Linked DNA regions of Homo sapiens: regions 1 and 2 are each linked to region 3. The links are contacts of gene promoters, found by promoter capture Hi-C in blood cells and fetal thymus (Javierre and others, 2016). All regions are on one chromosome and are shown on one strand. The core of a region is centred on a gene start or on the middle of the fragment in contact, and the rest is flanking DNA. Distances in the headings are between cores, read along the strand shown.

Region 1 (2,700 bases), core at 41-2,540, about 17 Mb after region 3:
TGTAGTAGTGGAAGAGACAAACAGCTGGAGAGAGGAGTGTTGATAGGAGAAAGACACAGGATGATAAGCACACACTCAACCCACCCCAAACCAGGCTAGGAAAGTTGAGGTTTCCTAAGGAAAGTGACAGCTAAGCTGAGGCCTTGAGGATAAAGAGAAGTTAGCCAGCCAAGAAGGTATGGAAACAGTTTTCCACACAAATGAAAGTCTGTGCAAAGGTCCAGGCTGAGAGAAATCACAGAACCTAAAAGGAGGCAGATGGGCCCAGGACAGCAGGAACTCAGTGCTGGGGGTGGAGGAAGCAGGAGGCAGAACAAGAAAGGACTTCAACATTACAGACTTAGGGCATTCTCCTGAGGGCAAGGACAGACTACTAAAGGGTTTTAAGCAGGATAATTGGTACTGTTCACATATAAGATGGGCAGTAAACATCTGTTCCGATATATCAAATAACCTTTTGAATTTAATTCTAGTCTTCCCTCTGCCCTAAATCAACACTTCCGACATCAGTGAAGAATATACAGGATTCCTAAACAATAGAAGTTCTGGATAACACCTAGCACAGCACTGTGCAATAAAACCATAATGTGAAACACATATGTAATTTAAAATTTCCTAGTAGCCAGAGTCTTAAAAAGTAAAATTAAGTTAAATTTAAGAGTAATAATATATTTTATTTAATAGAGCATTTGTAGAATATTACTTCAACATGTGATCAGTATTAAAAATACTGAGATATTTTACATTTTTTCATTCCAAGTCTGCAAAGTCTAGTGTGCATTTTATACTTAACAGAACATCTCAATCTGGACTGGCCATATTTCAAGTGCTCAATACCCACACATGGCTAGTGGCTACCATACTGAATAGTACAGATGTAGAATGTACTTTGGGAAGCATTTCTCAGAATGCTTAAAGTACTTTTTATCATTTGTTTGTATTTGTATTCTAATTTATTAAAATAATGCAAATCAGTTTTTCAATGGGAAAAAAAAAAAGCTCAATATTGAAAAGGTACCCATAATCCCATACCAAAAATACCGGTTAACATTTGAATGTATATGTTTGTTAGACACTGTCTTCATGTCCAACATATATGTAGAATACACTTTTCTAAAAGTAAGGTCCGTCTGAATAGCTCTTAATATGTAAACATTTATAATGATTTTTATGAATCCATAAAAATTTCTCTTTTAGGAAAAAACAATCACATTTCCAACATAGGTTTTAAAAAAATACATTACACATGGGATTCTGAATAAAATAAAACATTAATTCTGCTTTTACAGTTACTACCTTTTAAGATTATACCTAAATGAGTATTTCCTAGAACTCTGGAGTTTTATAGGGAACCATTATTATTTTAGGGGCATGCTGGTCTCCGTATTACCTAGAAGTTCTCAGAGACTGCCCTGCTGCTCCAGTTTCTCTTTACTGCCACCTGTCTGCTCCATTCTTCCCTTTTCATTGCCCAAAAAAAAGGAAGAAGGAAGAGGAGGGAAAAGGGAGGGGGAGAGGGGAGAAGGAAGAAAGGAGTGGGGGTTGGTGGGTAAAGGGGGAAAGAGGGAGGGAAAGGAGAAAAGGAAGACCAAAAGAAAGAAAAGGAAGAACAGAGGGAGGGAGGGATGAGTGTCTAACTTACACAGAGTAAAAAGGTGGCTTCAAAAATTTGGTAGGTTTGACTATATTCATTGCCCTTTGCCTTATTACTCAGCAAATGTCTTGGAGGCCATAAGTGCCCTATGAGTGACCAGTTCACACCTCTTTTCAGGCCTCTGCCTTCAGAAGTTACAAGATGATCAATTCAACCTCCACACAGCCTCCAGATGAATCCTGCTCTCAGAACCTCCTGATCACTCAGCAGATCATTCCTGTGCTGTACTGTATGGTCTTCATTGCAGGAATCCTACTCAATGGAGTGTCAGGATGGATATTCTTTTACGTGCCCAGCTCTAAGAGTTTCATCATCTATCTCAAGAACATTGTTATTGCTGACTTTGTGATGAGCCTGACTTTTCCTTTCAAGATCCTTGGTGACTCAGGCCTTGGTCCCTGGCAGCTGAACGTGTTTGTGTGCAGGGTCTCTGCCGTGCTCTTCTACGTCAACATGTACGTCAGCATTGTGTTCTTTGGGCTCATCAGCTTTGACAGATATTATAAAATTGTAAAGCCTCTTTGGACTTCTTTCATCCAGTCAGTGAGTTACAGCAAACTTCTGTCAGTGATAGTATGGATGCTCATGCTCCTCCTTGCTGTTCCAAATATTATTCTCACCAACCAGAGTGTTAGGGAGGTTACACAAATAAAATGTATAGAACTGAAAAGTGAACTGGGACGGAAGTGGCACAAAGCATCAAACTACATCTTCGTGGCCATCTTCTGGATTGTGTTTCTTTTGTTAATCGTTTTCTATACTGCTATCACAAAGAAAATCTTTAAGTCCCACCTTAAGTCAAGTCGGAATTCCACTTCGGTCAAAAAGAAATCTAGCCGCAACATATTCAGCATCGTGTTTGTGTTTTTTGTCTGTTTTGTACCTTACCATATTGCCAGAATCCCCTACACAAAGAGTCAGACCGAAGCTCATTACAGCTGCCAGTCAAAAGAAATCTTGCGGTATATGAAAGAATTCACTCTGCTACTATCTGCTGCAAATGTATGCTTGGACCCTATTATTTATTTCTTTCTATGCCAGCCGTT
Region 2 (2,700 bases), core at 140-2,639, about 12 Mb before region 3:
AAAAAATGCTGAGTTTACTTGGGAATCAAAAATAAAGATTATAATCTGGAATGCATGGAATGGCATACCAGTGCATTCAGTGAGGGTAAGAGGGGTTTCTATTAGCAAAAAGAGATTTACATAAGCTGCCTAGAAACAAGAGTTATTTGGTTCCAGAGGTTCAACGCCAGTTATTGTCAGTTCATTGGCGGAGATGCCATTACTGGGCAAGAACTCTCCTGAAAACATTTTATCTGAATTAAGGCAGTCCTAAAGTATGTTTATTGATAAGTCTTATCAAAGCAGGAGATTTGAAAGAATTTCTAGAAAGTCCTTGGAAATAGTTATCTCAGACAAGAGCCTCTTTCCTTCTAGGCCTGTCTAGGTATGACAAAAGTGATTTCATCCTAGCTTCTGAAACTTTCACATAATCAAGTAAACTTAAAAGAGTAAAACACAAAGTATGCTTATCATTTATCTATATTTCCATTCTTAAAACTGTCTACAAGCCAATTCTTAGAGATGAGAATCATTAAAAGGTAAAAATATGATTGACTTTCATAAAGCTTCATTTTATACCAGGAGGTAAAATGCACAAATTCTTTCACATGCTAACAGCTTTAACATTCAACACAGGCAGAAACTTGCGGGGCTGGGGGAGGATGGGAGAAATATTACTTGTTGAAACATCAGACACAAAGCTGATTCCTGGAAACTAATCTTAGAAGTAATAATAAATAATTACCTGCCAAAAAATGCCACCTTCATGTGTCTCCGAGATAGCACCTCACCAATGATGGAAAGCTTGTCTTTATATCCTTGCATTTCTACCAGATCATCTTCAGTGGCTATTCGATCAAGTTCCGGATTCTTATATGTTGCTGCAAAATTGAAATGGCATTAGAAAAGTGATATAAATGAATATTAAGTTAGTTATATAATGGAATACCTAAGATTGTATGTATTTTTGCTTTATGTTAACATGCCACCCACAGCATCTCAATGTTTGGTAAAAGGTGCATACTCCGTGGCAATGGGTCACAAGAATCCCGCCCAAAAGAATTTCAAGAATATTAAAAGTTGCAAGGGCACAGTCAAAAGTGGACTTCTAGGTCTCAAACATACAAGCTACCCTTGAGACAAGAATACATTTCTAAAGAGAGAAACTAGAACCTAACACTGACCTATTATTGTTCCAACCTGACTGAATGGATCTTCAGATCTTGAGCTCAGAAGGGGGAGCCACATACTGAGAGAAAAAAGTGAGGTTTGAATAGGAGCCCCTCAGAAATTAAGATACAGTGCAAGGTCTCCAAGCTAGGAAAGACCTTGCTACTTTACCACGTTCTATCTGCTTCCCCCAGGGATGAGGTGAAACAGCTCACTTAACACAAAGACAGAGAAGAAAGAGAATTACAGGTTGTATCCTATCTACAGCCATACCACCCTGAATGCACTCGATCTCATCAGATTGTATCCCACTTTCACTCTTATCAGGTTTAGGGTTTAACCGCACATCCCAGCCCTCACCTCTCCTCCATGGCTGGAGGTAGTTGAAAAAGCCTGGGTTTGAAAAATAGAAAAATCTTTCAGTTTTTTTTATAACTCAGGAATAGGAGATAACCTGATGTTTACATTCTTATCACCTCTTTTTGAAGGTAAAGACATGAAGATTCATGTGGGCGTGGGGGCTCACGCCTATAATCCTAGCACTTTGGGAGGCCGAAGTGGGCAGATCCCTTGAGGTCAGGAGTTCATGACCAGCCTGAACAATATGGTAAAACACCATCTCTACTAAAAGTACAAAAATTAGCTGGAAATCACTTGAATCCGGAGGCAGAGTTTGCAGTGAGCCGAGATGGTGCCACTGCACTCCAACCTGGGTGACAGAGTGAGACATCGTCTCAAAAAAACAAAAACAAAAACAAAAAGATTCATCTGGCTATCTGAATGACCCTAATTAGAGACAAACACTGCCACTTAAAACTTCTCCAGTGCACATCCAATTAAGCTTCTCATATCTCACCATACTTTTCTAACGCATTAATAAAATATGTGCAATTTGGTGAATAACGGACAGACTGGTTTAAGTATCATTACATTTATTTTTGCTTTTCATTTTATTTTTGCTCTTGTATGTTTTTCTTGATTTATTTGCTTTGTCTCCTTTTTGCAACATTTTTACTGAGGTTCTAAAACCTGTACAACTGAATTCAGATTCTAAAGCTGTCATTTCACTAGTGCCTAGCATGATGCATGATCTATAACACGTACAATACACATTTAACTTCATTTTCACTTCCTATTATTTTTAGAAAAAAAAATATTTTTAAAAAGTCAACTGTGCCAGCTCAAATTATTTCCTAATTGGAAACAAAGATTCTATACTACTATTTTTTTTTTCTCATTCAGCATTGAATTGTGTCAAGTCTGGTGCTAGGAATACAATGAATCCCAGGCTCCTGCCCTAAAGGAGCTCAAAATATGGTAAGAGAGGGTTGGGAGAGACATGAAAAAAAAAGTTTGATTCCCAATCTACCAAAGGTTTCCCCACTGTCGCTGGAAAAATTTACAGAATCCCTCCCTTTCCATTGTATAGTTGAGAGGTGCATAATCTTTTTTTTTTTTTGAAATGGAGTCTCACTCTGTCACCCAGGCTGGAGTGCAGTGGGCGACTTCGGTTCACTGCAACCTCTGCCTCCCAGGTTCAAGCGATTCTCC
Region 3 (2,700 bases), core at 180-2,679:
ATTTCTTGCAATTCTAGGAAACTGCAAAATAACCACCCTGGATAACAGGTCGGTAGCAGGACAATCTGATAAACCAACGTAAAGGGTAGACACTGAAGAAGAATGCAAAGTTATTTTCCTAGTGAAATAGTTCAGAAGTTATTCTATATCAATAGCAAAATTTTTGCTTTTTATAGGCTACGCACCTATAACATCCACCAGATAACATCCACCTCGTCCTCAATTAGCAGGATTTTTCTCAATCTTCAGATCTCCCAGAACAGTTTTACTGGTGCAACTCAAACCAAAAACACTAACCACGCCCTTTATACCCAGAGTCAAGCTTCCTTTTGCTTTTTTGCCCTTAAAGTCGAAAAATGTAAATCTTTCACCCGAGAGGTTTTGCACCGGTTTCCTAACCCAACGCGGACTCTTTTAGCTGTGTCTTGATGTAATTCCTATTGGAAGACGTTTTCTCCAGGGCAGTGCAGACGCCCCGAAGAAGGACCCACGCTTACCTCCCACACACCTGCAACCCCTGACGGGATGCTGGAGCTTGTGCTCGGCGGACTGTGCTCCGCTCCGCTCTCGTTCCTGCTTTCGTCTCTCCCGGGAAACTACAGTCCAGACTGCGCCTCTGGCTTCTACAGGGACCCAAGCTCCGCCTCTCCCTCCTCTAGTTGGCGAATTTGGCAGCTGTTGCTCCTCCCCCTGCTGTTTCTGCAGCTGCCCGGACCGGAGGCAGCGGAAAGCAGCTGCCCTGGTACCTTTCCGCTCCCTGCACTTCTGCAGCTGCTCTGCCACTTCCACTCCCGTGGGGGTCCCTCTCCCCTCCTCTGTGGCTCACACCTGGAGCGGCCTCCTGCCCCACCCAGGCGTCTCTGCTGGGAGCCCCGGCTCAGCCTATCCTTCCCCGACCTGTGTGTCCGGATGCCCGGTGTGCCTGGGGCTTAGCTGCTCTCAGGGAAGCTGCCCCTCTGCCCAGTGCAAGTCCCCACACCAAGCCCTCCCTTCACCTGGGCGATTTCCCCGAGGCTTCCTCTCCACCCACACGGCATACTCAGCCCGACAGCCCCAGGATCCCCACCACAGGCCCCTCACCCCCTTCCTTCCTCTGCTCTGTCAGCCCGCCCCCTCAATGGGTGAGGCGCCTGCGGGGCCTACTCCGCACCCTGATTGGCGCAGGTGAGGGCTTGCCCCGCCCTTCCTCTCCTTTCCGTGCACCATCTCTCTTCATCTCACCTCCTCCCGCAAAGGCAGGGAATTCTCCTACTATTGGCTAGAAGTGTCACCACCCATCGCCTCAGGATCCCCCGCATGGCCTGCCGGGAAGTGTAGTCTTCCGATTGCAGGAATTGCGGACAACGCCGGCGAGCGGGACTACGAGTCCCCATAAGCCTCTGCACGACTCCGGCTGGGCAGGATTCCGGACAACGCCTGGTTCCTCTTGGGTCCTTCCGGCGTCGCCGGAGTGAATTGATCCGGGAGTTGAAGAGGGCTGCAAGGTGGGAAGTGAAGTCAGTGCCTCAGTTGCTGGTAAGGTGTAGCTGTTCTGTCCCAGTCCCCGTAGCTCTGCACCGAGCAGAAGAGGTCTAGGGTCACGCAGGGGCCATGGCTGAGGCACTTGGGCTTGGTTCTGGCAGGCGGAGCGGACGGGGCTGAGAGCGGGGCCCTACGGGCGTAAGCGAGGTTACCCTACGCGAGTGGCGTAAAGCGGGTTTGTAAATGCCGCCTGCCGGCTTGGGCCCGAACGCCTCCAGGAAGTCTCCTCTAGGTGGGGGCGGGAGGGGAAGGGCGAGGTTGGCCCCTGGTGCCCCGGGAGAGGGGACAGGGCGGATGTGCCTGGGGTGGGGTCCTTTGAAGGTGTGGCTTCGGACCGAGAGGTGAGGCTGCTGTTTTCCCCCTGCTTTGTAAGTAAGAGAAAAGGGAGGAGGAAGGAAAGGGTGCTTGGGAGTCGGCTCTTGGGGGTGACTCGGGTTATGCCCTTTGAGGGAAGAGGAGCACTGGAAGAAGGAAGAGACAAATGTTGGGGTCTACGGATTCAGTTCCAGTTTAATGATGTGGCCCTCTAAGGAGATAATTTTGCCTTAAACAGAAAGACTTGACCCTCTTAGGTGTCATACCTAAGGTATGTTTTTACTCCTTTACTGCTTTCAGAGCGCTTTCATTTTGGGATGCTGATGAGGAAACCGAGGGATTATATGACGTGCCCAAGGTCACACACGTAGGGACAGACTTTCTGAATCTAGTTCGGTTCGAGTCCAGCTTTAGAGTAGGGACGTTGGTTGTGCTTTTTGAAAAGGGTGGAGGAAGTTACAAAGTAAATGTATTTTATATAGTATATCTAAGAAGCCATTGTGAGATAAAAAGTTGTTTCTTGAACCGGAGTGAAATTCCTCAATAAAGGAAAGATCCTTTTGGAAAAAATAAAAATGGCCAGTTTCAACTTTTACAGATTTTTCCCCTTTTTTTAGGGGTGTATTAAATGATAGACTCTACTCTCACAGTTCATTTTTACGGGTAGGTAATAGGATGGGAGAACAACAGTTAAACAATATATCCCATCCTTAGAAGAATATTCTTTTCTTTTTCTACCTTAGGACTGTTTTTACTCTCATTTTGTAAAACTGATAATAGTGGGATTGGAATTCTTTCACAAAACTACACTTTTTTCAAATAATGTAGCGTTAGGAGAGTTTAGTGTGCCCATTACTAGAAAAG

What was found. The method cuts DNA at HindIII sites, captures the fragments that hold promoters and counts their contacts. A CHiCAGO score of 5 or more calls a contact.
Region 1: a fragment that was not itself captured here is called in contact with the fragment with the promoter of PDCD10 in region 3 in 1 of 17 cell types (total CD4 T cells); the score reaches 7.5 in total CD4 T cells.
Region 2: a contact is called between a fragment that was not itself captured here and the fragment with the promoter of PDCD10 in region 3, in 2 of 17 cell types (neutrophils and non-activated CD4 T cells). The highest score is 7.3, in neutrophils.

The regions. Positions count from the first base shown.
Region 1 is chr3:151,213,412-151,216,111 of GRCh38, reverse strand. All of the region lies in intron 16 of MED12L (mediator complex subunit 12L), which reads right to left. It overlaps P2RY14 (purinergic receptor P2Y14), which reads left to right. Exons shown (of 3, transcript NM_014879.4): 3 at 1,772-2,700. The coding sequence starts at 1,796. Among named protein-coding and RNA genes, the nearest start is that of GPR171, 12 kb to the right of the region's middle. The HindIII fragment of the contact is 6,767 bases long and covers 1-2,700 here.
Region 2 is chr3:179,350,060-179,352,759 of GRCh38, reverse strand. It overlaps MFN1 (mitofusin 1), which reads right to left. Exons shown (of 18, transcript NM_033540.3): 3 at 725-860. Among named protein-coding and RNA genes, the nearest start is that of MFN1, 3.7 kb to the right of the region's middle. The HindIII fragment of the contact is 1,207 bases long and covers 786-1,992 here.
Region 3 is chr3:167,733,621-167,736,320 of GRCh38, reverse strand. It overlaps PDCD10 (programmed cell death 10), which reads left to right and starts at 1,429. Exons shown (of 9, transcript NM_007217.4): 1 at 1,429-1,659; 2 at 1,971-2,107. SERPINI1 (serpin family I member 1) reads right to left here and starts at 600. Exons shown (of 9, transcript NM_001122752.2): 1 at 498-600. RefSeq lists an enhancer at 1,178-1,617 and a silencer at 1,668-1,797. The HindIII fragment of the contact is 6,113 bases long and covers 325-2,700 here.